Linked DNA regions of Homo sapiens: regions 2, 3 and 4 are each linked to region 1. Evidence: promoter capture Hi-C in 16 types of primary human blood cells and fetal thymus (Javierre and others, 2016). All regions are on one chromosome and are shown on one strand. The core of a region is centred on a gene start or on the middle of the fragment in contact, and the rest is flanking DNA. Distances in the headings are between cores, read along the strand shown. Region 1 holds the start of EIF4EBP2 (eukaryotic translation initiation factor 4E binding protein 2). Region 2 overlaps SAR1A (secretion associated Ras related GTPase 1A). Region 3 has its middle 22 kb from the start of SAR1A. Region 4 overlaps PPA1 (inorganic pyrophosphatase 1).

Region 1 (3,396 bases), core at 533-3,032:
AACTCCACTATTCTGCAAAGTTAACATTTCCTTAAACCCAGCTCTCCATATATATTACTGAACTTCTGCCTGGGTCATTTAAAAAGCCTTTCAAGGCAGCCCGCCCAGCCCCCAGAGCGGCCTGGCTGAATTTCTCTGTAAAGCTCCCTCCTAGATTTTATCCCTTGGTGTTGGCAAGAAGGTCTCCTTACTCCACAGGCCTTGCTATTGTGCAACTGATTTAAGGATGGTCCAGGCCTAACTGCATCGGATTGGTTGTAGTACAGCTCCTGAGCCCTGCCCACAGGAACAAGGCTAGCAATCCTCTAGACCGCAGGAGCTGCGAAGTCCCCACCCTCTAGCAAGAGGCCACCCCAGCACCAAAAGAAGACAAAGTTCTGAAGTTAAAAAGGAGGCCCCGTTCCCTTCAATAAGGCTCCTCAAAATCGCTTTCCAGGCTCCTCCCTCTGGAGGACAGCCCAGTTAGGGCACAGACAACCTTTGAGCTCTCTTCCCGTGACCAAGCTTCACCTCTACCCCAGTATTACTTATTTGTAAACAGTTCCTGGTCATGCTTTGAAAAGCAATGCCAGGGAACCACCCTCTCTCTGGATTGCCTCTCTCTAGCCCCTTCCACAGGATCAAGCAACCACCCCACCCAACTGGGGTGTCCTTGACAAAGGTCCTTCAATCCATTTCCAAAGGCGTCGCTGCCGAAAGACACCCTACCTTAAGGCTGTCAGCACCCTACCACCCCCACCTACTTTCCCTTGGCTATTACTTGAGCTTTATTTTATCACGCTCTCCTCCCGGCCTGGGGACTCCCCTCACCCGTGGGGCCTCGTCCAGCAAAGTAAACAATGCTGTCAAAGCGGGATAACGCTGGGCGAGGCTTCCAGACTCCGCATTCCAGCCTCCTCCCGGTGTTCTAAAAGCAGCAAAAACAAGCCATCGCAGGATGCCAGGGCCGAATTCCTCTCCCAAAGTTCTTTTTTAAAAAGCCCCGGAGCCAGCTCCAAAATCAAGCATTAATTTGCACAATCTACGACAGGCAATGCAGACTGTAATGCAAGGCCAAGTGGAGCCAAATCCGCCCGGGAAGGAGGCAGAGAGGAGAGAGAGAACTGGGTCGAATGCGTAAGCCTGCCACGAAGCGGAAACAAGAGCTCTTTTTCGCGACAGGACAGCCACATTCCCGAGTGGGGCGCGCGCCGACTCGAGCTGCGGGCAAGAGCGAACACGAAGTAAAGGGTCCCGAACGCTCGGGCGGGCCCAAGGGCAGCGTCCCCGGGGCTTCGGTGGAGCTGGGGGCGGGGGCGAAGCGGCCGGGCACCGAGGCGCCGAGGAGTTAGAGGACCGCGGCGGGACACCGGGCGCGGCGGACGGCTGGCCGGCGCTCACCTCCCGGTGTGGTGGAGAAGAGCGTCCCCCCGGGCGTGGTGCAATAGTCATGAGGTAGCTGCGCGGCGTCGCTGATGGCCACGGTGCGGGTGGGGATGGCGCGGCTCTGGCTGGGCTGGTGGCCGCTGCCGGCTGACGAGGACATGGCTGTGGGCGCGGGCTCTCGGCTTTGTCCGGCGGGCAGGCGGCGGCGGCGGGGCCGGGGCTGCTTCGGCTCCTCAGGCGGACGGAAAAGCGCGCTCTGCGCGCTCCTCGCTCGCTTCCTCCCGTTCCCTCGTCCCGCTCCGCTCCCGCCGCCGCCCTCTCAGCCGCCGCCGCCGCCGCCGCTCGATCCTCCGGCCTCAGCCAGCAGCCTCAGGAGCAACAGCAGCGGCAGCAGCGGCGACGACGACGACCGGAAGCGGGCGAAGGCGGGAGCCAGAGGGAGTTGGGGAAGCTGGTCGGCCGGAGGTGACGTCGCCGCGGGGCGGGGCGAGGCAGTGAGGGGCGTGGCTGAAGTTGTTGAAGGGGGCGGGGACGAGGGGCAGGGCTGAGGAAGAGAGTGGCTTAACCCCAGCGAGCGGGAGAAGAGCCAGAGGGAGCGCGAGCTAAGTGTTTGTGAGCCTGGTGAAGGCGGACAAGGAAAACTTTCTTCTTATTGTTTGTCATTGTCGGTTAACACCACTTTACTTGAGCAGACTTGAGTTTCTCATGCATTCCTATGCATTAAAAATGTAATTTTACTTTTAATTGTTCATTATTAATTCAGGCACTACATGCACGATGTACTGTATTTTAAAAATCAAACAGAGCAGAAAGGTTTATGGTGCCACTTTCTCCCAGTTTCCGAACTCCCCTCAACCGCTGTACCAGTTAATTGTGTATCCTTCCAAAGACCATCACTATATACACACATAAAGCAAGATCTAAACATTAGGAAAAGGAAGAAACCAAGAGCCACTCATGGCAACAAGAATGAGTATTATTGTATTAGAGTTAAAATGAGGCACAGGAGAGGGCTTAGACCATGAGGTACCTGAAAAATCTAGATCTGGAACTCTATTCTTTCCTCGAGGGGTTCTCAAACTTTGGGTCTCAGTACCTCTACATTCTTGAAAATTATTGAGGATTTCCAAGAGCTTTTGTTTGTGTGGATTATATGTATTGATAATTATTGTATTAGAAATTAAAACTGAGCCGCTGCTGATCACTAGTGGGATTGTACCTGTGAATAGCCACTGCATTCCGGCCTGGGCAACAGAGTGAGGCCCTGTCTCTAAAAAACAACAACAACAACAACAACAAAAAACAAATTAAAACTGAGAATGTTTTAAATGTTTATTAATTCATAAAATAATAACCTATTACATGTTGACATTATATTTTTTAATTATCTAAAACAAATAGTGAGAACAGTGGCATTATTTTATATTTTTGCAAACGCTTTAATATCTGGCTTAATAGAAAACAGCTGTATTCTCATATCTGTTTCTGTGTTCAAGCTGTTGTAATGTGTTGATTCAACTATATGAAGAAAACCCAGCCTCACACAGGTATGTAGTTAGAAAAGAAGGTTGTCTCAGATCCCCGAGGGGCTCTCCAGATCACACTTTGAGAACCGCTGCACTAGGGCAGCACTACTTCTGCCCACAACATGCCCAAGGTGGGACTGGGAAGACACTCATGGGTAAGGCCAACATAGCTACCATCATTCCCATTTTGCAAATGAGAGAAATAAGGGTAAGAGAGGTTGAGGGGAAAACAGCTATTGCTTCACTGCTCAGAGGGTCAAACAGGTGCTTGGCAAGAACATAGACAAAAGAACTTACAACAGCCCAGGGCAGGCCAGGGCATTACATGGTACTGATTTTGTGGTGAGTGCCCCAAGAATCCAGAAAAAAAAGTCCCCTGCCTGTCCTGCCATCTGGAAGCTGCCAGAGTTGCAGAGGGCTGAGTTTAACCTTGAAAGACTCTGAGACTTTGGACATGCCAACAGAGACACTTCTAGTGGAAGGAAAGGGGAAGATACTAGTTTAC
Region 2 (3,396 bases), core at 249-2,748, 240 kb after region 1:
TTAATTGTAATTTTTTTAATTGGAAAACAAATACACAACTTGGAATGGATTTGAGGCAAATTGTGCCATAAGCACATTTTCTTTAAGTGGCTAAACAAAGTTTAAAAAGCAAGTAACAGTAAAAGAAAATGTTTCTGGTACAGGACCAGCAGTACAGAAAAAACAGTGTGTGAGGTACCTGGGAGTACCTGGATAATACACCCATTCTGCAGTAGTGCAACTTTTAAGTACATATTGTTGGCTGTCCGTAGTCCACACAGAGTTACAACTCCATACTTCAACACCATGCTGACAGTTCCTAAAGAAAACTACTTTAAAAAAAGGCATAACCCGGATGTTCCCTTATTTGACCAACTCCACCTAAGTTTAGATGTGCAGAAGGGCTTAGATATATCCGGAGTAAGCCACAGGCAACATGTTACTTCATCAGTTTTCTAAAATAAGGTTTCAGGGCAATGACAGTAAGGGAAGAACACATGGAGGAATGAAGTCCTGATTACCATACATGCATATTTTTTTTTGACAGTAGGGAGAAGCCTTTTACAGATAAGTTACAAACAAAAGGCAAATAAACAGTTTTGTGCAAGAAATTTAACACATTCTGTACAAGGTCTTCATTATGCTGTCATCATTTGTACAAACTCATAGTTTACTTGACCATCACCATCAGGATCTGCTTCCCTGATCATTTAATCAACTTCTTCATCTGTTAACTTCACTCCAAGGTTTGTCATCACATGGTGAAGTTCTACACCACTAATATAGCCATTGCCATCCTTATCAAACACACAGAATGTTTCTCTAATTTCTTCTTCACTGTCTGTGTCTTTCATTTTTCTTGCCATCATTGTCAGAAATTCAGGGAAGTCAATTGTGCCATTACCATCAGCATCTACTTCATTAATCATGTCCTGTAACTCTGCTTCTGTGGGATTCTGCCTGAGACCTCATTACAGTTCCTAGTTTCTTTGTTGTTATAGTTCCATCACCATCTTTGTCAAATAGTGAAAAAACTTCTTTGAATTCTACAATCTGCTCCTCAGTCAGTTGGTCAGCCATGCTGCAAGTGCTACTGGTTTCCGAGACGCAACCACACAACCACTCTGCTCGCTCACTTGCTCCACTTGGACTGATTTAGTGTCATTCTTCAGGGCCCTAGGATTTTCAAAATGGTAAATGAGTATGGGTCCTAGGATTTTCAGAATGGTAAATGAGTATGGGTCCTAGGATTTTCAGAATGGTAAATGAATATTGGCCTCAACGTAAAGTCACCTTGCATTAGCCCATAACAAGAGAGTCAGCTTGCCCCTTGAAGCTTTGAAGCCAAGCAATGACATCTCCCCTCTAGCTATGAAAGTCCTAGATGGCTTTTCAAATAGAAGGCTGTTTTGCCTACATTGAAAATGTGTTGTTTAGTGTAGCCACCCACCTTCATCAGTTATCTTGCTGCAGCTTCTACATCAGCACTTGCTTTTTTACCTCGTGTTTTTATTTTATTATTATTTTTTATCAGCAATAAGGCTGTTTCATTTTCTTGACGTTCATGGGTTTGCTGGAGTAGCACTTTTAATTTTCTTCAAGAACTTTTCCTTTGCATTTGCAATTTGGGTAACTGTTGAGTGCAAGAGGCCTAGCTTCTGGCTTATCTCAGGTTTTGATGTGTCTTCGTCACTAAGCTTAATCATTTCTAACTTTTGCTTTCAAGGGAGAGACCTGTTACTTTCACTTGGAGAATAGGGAGGCTTGGGGTGGGGGCAGGACTGTGGAGGAAGTCAAGTTTGCTGTCTTCTATGGTTGTGGTTTGTGGCACAACAAAACAATTATACTAGTAATACCAAAGATCACTGATCATAGATCATGATGACAGATATAAGAATAATGAAAAAGTTTGAAATATTGTGTGAGAATTACCAAAATGTAACATAGAGACATGAAGGGAGCACATGCTGTTAGAAGATGGTACTGATACACTTACTCAACTCAGGGCTGCTTCCAACCTTCAATTTGTAAAAAAACCAGAAAACCTCAGGATCCACAAAGTATCATCAAATGAGGTATGCCTTTATATTTTTAACTCCTAGTTCTCTGAGTATCATAGATCAAAAACTATTAGGAAACAAGTTATTTTTGCACATATAAGGATTCTAGACTCTCCTCCAGATTGCAAAATCTGTGTCAAGAAAGAATATTAGTTTCTCTTTACTTTGCTTCCTCCCCTCCCCTTCCATCCCCTCCTCCCCTTCCCCTCCTCCCCTCCCCCTCCTCCCCTGCCCCGCCTCCCCTCCCCTCTCTTTTCTTTTCTTTTCCTTTCCTTTCCTTTCCCTTTCCCTTTCCCTTTCCCTTTCCTTTTCCCTTTCCCTTTCCCTTTCCCTTCCCTTTCCTTTCTCCTGTCCTGTCCTGTCTTTTTTATCAGAGTCTCCCTCTGTTGCCCAAGTGAGTGCAGTGGCACCGTCATGCCTCACTGCAGCCTCAAACCCCTGGGTTCAAGTAATTCTTCTGTCTCACCCTCCTGAGTAGCTGGGACTCTTGGTGTGTGTCATTATGTCCAGCTATTTTTTTAGTTATTTGTAGAGATTGAGTCCAGCTTTCTTGCCCAGGCCAGTTGTGAACTCCTGGGCTCAAGTGATCCGCCTGCCTTGGCTTTCCCAAATGCTGGGATTCCAGGTGTGAGCCACCATGCCTGGCCTGCTTTCTTATTCCCGAAAACAAGAGACTATAAATGTGCATCATGGCTAGGGAACAAGAGTTAACCTCTCCACAATTGTACTGTCATTCAGAAAGCTAATGTTTGCTACTTTCATATTTTATACAGGTAGTAAGCATTAATAATGTCTTTCATCTTTGAGTGGATCTACAATGGCTTCAGCAGTGTGCTCCAGTTCCTAGGTAAAGCCATTTCCTTGAAATACAGGTTTCAAAGTTTGTGCCTTTCCCTCAGTAATTTAACTACAAATAGGCTTTGGTCTGTAGAGAGCAAATGTGTTAACAATTTTTTTCTCTTTTAGGACTGTACAAGAAATCTGGAAAACTTGTATTCTTAGGTTTGGATAATGCAGGCAAAACCACTCTTCTTCACATGCTCAAAGATGACAGATTGGGCCAACATGTTCCAACACTACATCCGAGTAGGTTTGAAAATATCAGGTGACCTTTTGATCTTTAAAGGTCAGTGTTAGGCGTGGAGGATGAATCCCTAGTTGGTGGAGTTCTTTTATTAACTGAAGTCCCAAAAGCCAACTCATACGAGAAAGTTCCCTGTAAGACACACTCAGGTTATGTACTTTCAGATCTAAACCTCTGGAACTTTGTCATTATCTGTTGTCACTGGTCCTGTAAAGGGACACCTCTCCTATACCTACTTCTAAGAAGTGGAAAATAGCTTGGAAGAAAAGAAAC
Region 3 (3,396 bases), core at 246-2,745, 210 kb after region 1:
TCTACTAAAAATACAAAAAGATTAGCCGGGCATGTGGCTGGCGCCCGTAATCCCAGCTACTCGGGAGACTGAGGCAAGAGAATCGCTTGCACCTGGGAGGTGGAGTTTGCAGTGAGCTGAGATATCGCCATTGCACTCCAGCCTGGGTGACAACAGCGAGACTCCGTTTCAAAAAAAAAAAAAAGAGGGTCACAAACACCTCACATTCTGAGGTGCTGGGGATTAGGACTTCAATATGAATTTTTGTGGGACACAACACGTAACTCTCAAAGAGAAGCTTTGGGTGTTTGGAAAGTTCTCTTTTTCATCATCCATGCTAGATAAAAGTCATCTGGGTACTAAAGCCAAAAGAAATCTTAATTCCTGGAACAGCCCTCTTAGGAACACTTCTTGAGATTTGAGTTTGCCAGGCACTGTTTTAGACACTGGGGATATAGTGTTGAGCAAGACAGATGAGGTCACCCTGACAGTAGGATGGGCTTGGTTATGCACAGCAATCCCCCCAAATCTCAATGGCTTAAGGAAACAAAAGTTGATTCCTCACTCACATAAAGTAGGCTCTGCTTGTGGGCAGCTGTTCCCCTATGATAGCTTAGCATCACGCCTCCGTGTTAACACGTGCTTTCTCATGTCGATCAGCCTCTCGGAGGAAGAAAGTGGTGGAGCCTTGCACTGGTGATTAGGTGCTTCTGCCCAGAAGTGACGCACATCACAGACATTTCACTGGCTAGAGCAAGCCGAATGACCATGCCTGACCTCAAGGTGGTAAGGAAGTCCAGTCTTACCATGGAGTAAAGGAAATAACTGTGAGAGTGCCAGGTATTTTGACACACCTCATTTAACACAGAGAGAAATAAGCTCTTCTTATTTATTTATTAGTTAGGGTTTTGCTCTGTTGCCCAGGCTGGAGTGCAGTGGTATAATCATAGCTCATTGCAGCCTTGAACTCCTGGGCTCAAGCGATCCTCCCACCTCAGCCTCCTGAATAGCTAGGACTACAGGCATGTGCCACCATGCCTGGCTAAATTTTAAATTGTTTTGTAGAGATGGGGTCTTACTATATTGCCCAGGCTGGTCTCAAACCTCAGACTCCTGGACTCAAGTGATCTTCCCAGCTCAGCCTCTCGAAGTGCTGGGTTTACAGGGTTTACAGATGTGAGCTACCACACCCAGCCTCTTTTTTTTTTTTTTTATAAGAAAAAGATGCAGAGAACCTAAGTAATTTAGCCAAAGTCACTTAAATTTATCCAAAGTCAGTAAGTGGCTGAAGCAGGACTTAGACCCAGGTCATCTGACCTTGAGACCAGGGATTTTCCTACTAGCTTTATGTTATTTGTCTGCTTTCACAATCATTATTAGTGGGTACTTAACATGTCTGGGCTTTAGTTTTCCCATCTGCGTCACAGGATTGGCAGGAACATATGTGAAGGAGCTTGCCCACTGTCCATGTCATAGTGGGCGTTCGGTGAAGCCTGGTTGTTTATAGTTGTGATCTCAGCAACTCTTAGTGTGATCAATGCATTTTTTTTTCCCAGGTAAGGAAACTTGATGCCTTGGCCTGGTTATTTAAAGGGTCTGAATGAGAACCCAAATCACTCACCACTGAGCCCAGGCCTACACGTGCTACTGCTCTGATGGCAATTATTTTCAATCTGATAAGCATATTTGCTCTACAAGGGCCTAACTTGTGCTTTTGCACATGACGTTCTTTACATTTAGAAAAAGCTGCTCCTACTGCTTCCTGGGAGTCTCAAGGCAGAAAGGAATTTACTTTTGCATTAATAAGAATGTTGTGCAAATTGCCATGGTGGAAAAGTTTTTATGAGTTATAAATTTGAATCAATTGCTATATAGTTCATTGCTACCTCTGTCGATCTTTGAGATCTTTCCCTGATTATTACAAAACCTTTAAATTAAGGAAATACTTGCCAGGAATAAGGTTAAGCAATGAGAATCACAAGGTTATGTGGCAATCTGAACTTGAAGTCTGAGAGCAATTTGGCAATATCTATCAAAAATTTAAATTCATACTTAATCTTTGACTCAGCAATTCTAGGAATTCATTCTGCAGAACAGTCAACCAAACACATAGTATACAGCAGCTTTGTTTGCAATAGCAAAATCTGGAAAAGTACTTAACTGCCCCACAGAGGAATGGCTGAATCTGTTACTCATACCCACAGCACTTAAAGAGTGAAATCACTGCATGGACTGATATGGAAAAGATGTTCAAAATATATAAGTGAGGAGAGAAAATTGTAGTACTCTATAGTGGTAAACTATGACTTGTGGGCCAAATCCAGCCTGCTGCCTGTTTTGTAAATAAAATTTTATTGGAACATAGCCAACATCTTTTCATTTGCAAATTGTCTGTGGCTGCCTTCCGTCTACAGTGGAGTGTTCAGTAGTTAGGACAGTGACCATATGGCCCCAAAAGCCAAAAGTATTTACTGTTTGTCTGTTTACAGAAAACATTTTCCAATCCCTGCTCTATCATATGATCCTATTTGTGTTTTTTACAAAGGGAGCATTTGGAGGAAAGACGTATATCAATAGATATGCTTCTATAAGCATAGACAATGAAAATCCAAATCCAAACCACAGTTAAGAAATCTAAAACCACAGTAACAATGATTACCTCTGGGGAGTGGAACTGTGGAGTAAGCAAGGAATAGATAAGGTCAGAGAGTTTCCTTCTTCTTTAAAAGCTTCTGTACTCTTGGAATTATTTTTCTAAAAGCATATGCAGTATGCCTTATTTTATTAAAAAAAAAAATCAATGAAGTAGGAGGAGAACACTGATGAATGGTGTTCAGCACACCCAGTGATATAAATGCTGCCAGCTCTCTAAGGCAGACTTTCTCCAAGTGGTCCCTGAACTACCAGAGCTATCTGTTTAAAAAAAAAAAAAAAGCCGAATGAATCAGAATTGGGAGGTGCTGGGCCCTAAAATCCACTTTTTTTTTTAGACAATCTCACTCTGTCGCCCAGGCTGGAGTGCAATGGCATGATATCAGCTCACTGCAACCTCCACCTCCCAGGTTCAAGTGATTCTCCCACCTCAGGCTCCCAAGTAGCTGAGCCTACATGCGCACGCCACCACGCCTGGCTAATTTTTTGTATTTTTAGTAGAGATGGGGTTTCACCATGTTGGCCAGGCTGGTCTTAAACTACTGACCTTAAGTGATCCTCCCGCCTCAGGCTCCCAAAGTTCTGGGATTACAGGCATGAGCCACTGCACCCAGCCTAAAATCCACTTTTCAACCAGGACTCTGATGTTTGAAACCGCTGCTCTTGTAATAAATGCCAGAGATCAGCAAAAGATTTCTCAGTGGGGTTTAATATAATCAGTGTGAGATCATCCAGCAAACATCTACTCACAGCAAAAGCAACAAC
Region 4 (3,396 bases), core at 897-3,396, 180 kb after region 1:
ATCGTATTTCTTTCTGATAGCTTCTCAAATAGACTTCTGTCACTTTCGATGAAATACTTCAGGTATCCATATACTTTTAACAACTTAGAGTATATCCTTCTAGAATCATATAACCAACTTTACAGCCAAAACTTAGAATTAAGAGCCATTGTCATTTGGTGAGCAGTGAATAAGATAAAGTATTCTTGGAAATGGTGAAATCTGGTATACCTTTTCGAAAGCATCTTTATGGGGATGGAACATTTTCTTTTAACTACGTGAGCTCTTCTGATAGGGATTTTATACTCCAAAACTAGTCTATAAGTTCCAAAAAAAAAAAAAAAGTTAAAGCTTGGTTTGGATTAGTTTCTTGCTTTATGTTTATGCTCTAGATAAATTTAGAAGAAAATTCTCTCTACCTCTACTGTTTTTTCTCCAAATTTTATTGCAAAACAATAAAGATTAAAAAATGGGGGGTGGGCTGGGTGCCGTGGCTTATGCCCGTAATTCTAGCACTCTGGGCAGCCTAGGTGGACGAATTGCTTGAGCTCAGGAGTTCATGACCAGCCTCAGCAACATGGTGAAACCCGGTCTTTACCAAAAATAGAAAAAAAAAAATTAGCTGGGTGTGGTGGCAGGTGCCTGTGGTCCAGGAGGCAGAGGTAGGAGGATCACTTGAGCCCCGGAGACGGAGGTTGCAGTGAGCTGAGATCATGCCACTGCACTTCAGCCTGGGTGACAGGTGAGACTCTGTCTCTAAATAAATAAATAAATAAATAAGAGTGGTGGGACCACAGGGTGATTTTTGTGTTTCTTTCTAAGCCTGGTATTTACTAGATTTCTGAAGTTATCTAGAGAAACACACAATGAGTCAACTTGAAAATGCTAATGTCAGCCACTTGGTATAATTCTGTAGTATAGTTCATCGAATTTACCAAATCCAGGGTTAGAAATAAATCTCAATGCTGGGCGCGGTGGCTCATGCCTGTAATCCCAACACTTTGGGGGGCCAAGGTGGGCGGATCACCTGAGGTCGGGAGCTCGAGACCAGCCTGACCAACATGGAGAAACCCTGTCTCTACTAAAAATACAAAAATTAGCTGGGCATGGTGGTGCATGCCTGTAATCCCAGCTACTCGGGAGGCTGAGGCAGGAGAATTGCTTGAACCCGGGAGACGGAGGTTGCAGTGAGCCGAGATTGCACCATTGTGCTCCAGCCTGGGTAACAAGAGCGAAACTCTGTCTCAAAAAATAAAATAAAATAAATAAATAAGAAATAAGTCTCAATAAAGACACATTGAACTTAACTGCTAGGATTTAAAGACGTGCTGTAATTAAATTAAGAGCATGTTCCCTATATATGTACTTAACTGCATTAGTAATAACAGCCTACCAAATGGCCGTAGCCTATTTATTAGTAAACAACTTGTCAGACTACTGACTTGGTCCATAAGACCCTAACCAGTTTGGAGATGAGACGGGGCCTCACCATACTACTGTGATTAATATTCCTGTTTAATTAGTGAAGTTACACACCTAACCAAGATATAGGAGATATTTCTTCTATTCCTGAAACATTTTTATTTTAAATATTTTTGATTAATGGAGTGACATAATGTAGAGTTGTTGAGTTTCCAGTTTCCTTAGAATCTGGACATCTTTAATGTTTTGTTGTAACATCTTGACTACTTGATAAAATGATTGTAAATCTGGGAAGGGAAATAGACTTTTTTTTTTTTTTTTTTTTGTAGAGACAGGGTCTGTCTATGTTGCTCAGGCTGGTCTTGAACTCCTAGTCTAAGCAATCCTCTTGCCTCAGCCTCCCAAAGTGCTAGGTTTACAGGCACGAGCCACCATACCTGGCCTGAAATAGACAGTTATATTTCTGACTTTGGGAACAAGAGCTAAAGTTATAGTTTGCCTTTTCCCTTATCCCCCACTGGTTTATCAGCAAGGTAATTATTGAGTTTATCAAAATCATCCCTCTAGGGAGACTTAACTTCCTTCTTTTCTGAAACTGTTAACAGAGAGCTGAGAGCTCTGATGCCAGAGCAATGACTGAGACTCCAAAGCATGGTAGGATTGGAGGATGGAGTTCTGGGAAGTCCTAACAGTGGGAGTAACAAGATAGTAAATCCAAGATCCAGCTAAGTAAAAGCTGAAACCAGTTGGGATTAAAGAAGAAGGAATGAATTTGTAACTGGGTAGTACGAAATTTCTTAAAATCAGTATTTTTTAAGTGCGTGAATATTGGAATCATTAGAATGCATAAAAACAGTAATAGTTTTTATAGCAACTCTGTTGCTATAAAATTCATTGAATTTCTCATATCAGTTGCCCTGAAAAATCCTAAATATCACTGTTGTTCACCTAGTAGCAACTCTTTGAATTGTAGCCAGATGTCTAGAAGAAGGTTGTTCTTTAGTAGTAATTCCTGCTAAAGTATGTGGAACACCCCCTCCTTACAAGTACAGAGCTGGGCAGGATGGCTTGCACCTGTAGTCCCAGCTACTAGGGATGCATAGGCAGGAGGATCACTTGAGGCTAGGAATTAGAGACCAGCCTGCTCAACATAGTGTGACTTCATCTCCAAAAACATAATTAAAAAACAATTAGCCAGGTGTGGTGGTGCACACCTGTAGGCCCAGCTACTTAGGAGGCTGAGGCAGGAGGATTGCTTGAGACCAGGAGTTGGAGGCTGCAGTGAGCTATGATTGCGTCACTGTACTCCAGTCTGGATGACAGAGTGAGACCCCGTCTCTCTCTCTCTCTCTCTTTAAAAAAATGTTTTTTAAGAGACAGGGTCTTGCTATGTTGGTCAGGTTGGTCTTGAACTCTTGGCCTCAAGCGGTCCTCCTGCCTCTGCCTCCCAAAGTGCTAGGATTATAGACGTTAGTCGCCACGCCTGGCTGAGACAAGTATTACTACAGCATCTACATGCATTTGAAAGTGTGCTAGTATTCCATGCATAAAAAATGATGAGTTCATGTCCTTTGTAGGGACATGGATGAAGCTGGAAACCATCATTCTCAGCAAACTGTTGCAAGGACAAAAAACCAAACACCGCATTTCTCACTCATAGGTGGGAATTGAACAATGAGAACACGTGGACACAGGAAGGGGAACATCACACACCGGGGCCTGTTGTGGGGTGGGGGGAGGGGGAAAGGATAGTATTAGGAGATATACCTAATGCTAAATGATGAGTTAATGGGTGCAGCACACCAACATGCAACATGGCACATGTATACATATGTAACAAACCTGCACTTTGTGCACATATACCCTAAAACTTAAAGTATAATAATAAAAAAAAAGTGTGCTAAACATTGATTTTACAGATGAGTCACTCACCCCAAGCTGTAGCCTGAGGCCTACAAACTGGAAGTACCTGATTTAGCAGGCGAGAATTCTACC

Evidence for each region. Contacts are between HindIII fragments. The CHiCAGO score rates a contact against its expected background, and 5 or more counts as called.
Region 2: a fragment that was not itself captured here is called in contact with the fragment with the promoter of EIF4EBP2 in region 1 in 1 of 17 cell types (neutrophils); the score reaches 5.5 in neutrophils.
Region 3: a contact is called between a fragment that was not itself captured here and the fragment with the promoter of EIF4EBP2 in region 1, in 1 of 17 cell types (monocytes). The highest score is 6.2, in monocytes.
Region 4: a contact is called between a fragment that was not itself captured here and the fragment with the promoter of EIF4EBP2 in region 1, in 4 of 17 cell types (fetal thymus, naive CD4 T cells, naive CD8 T cells and 1 more). The highest score is 6.0, in fetal thymus.

Annotation. Positions count from the first base shown.
Region 1 is chr10:70,402,531-70,405,926 of GRCh38, reverse strand. EIF4EBP2 (eukaryotic translation initiation factor 4E binding protein 2) reads right to left here and starts at 1,782. Exons shown (of 3, transcript NM_004096.5): 1 at 1,381-1,782. The coding sequence starts at 1,525. RefSeq lists silencers at 1,481-1,690, 1,721-1,910. The HindIII fragment of the contact is 15,348 bases long and covers 507-3,396 here.
Region 2 is chr10:70,161,348-70,164,743 of GRCh38, reverse strand. It overlaps SAR1A (secretion associated Ras related GTPase 1A), which reads left to right. Exons shown (of 7, transcript NM_020150.5): 2 at 2,813-2,886; 3 at 3,006-3,125. The coding sequence starts at 2,829. It also overlaps the pseudogene CALM2P2. Among named protein-coding and RNA genes, the nearest start is that of SAR1A, 7.5 kb to the left of the region's middle. RefSeq lists an enhancer at 274-353. The HindIII fragment of the contact is 361 bases long and covers 1,318-1,678 here.
Region 3 is chr10:70,190,793-70,194,188 of GRCh38, reverse strand. No RefSeq gene overlaps it. Among named protein-coding and RNA genes, the nearest start is that of SAR1A, 22 kb to the right of the region's middle. The HindIII fragment of the contact is 2,431 bases long and covers 280-2,710 here.
Region 4 is chr10:70,222,577-70,225,972 of GRCh38, reverse strand. All of the region lies in intron 2 of PPA1 (inorganic pyrophosphatase 1), which reads left to right. Among named protein-coding and RNA genes, the nearest start is that of PPA1, 9.2 kb to the left of the region's middle. RefSeq lists an enhancer at 3,232-3,396. The HindIII fragment of the contact is 3,628 bases long and covers 333-3,396 here.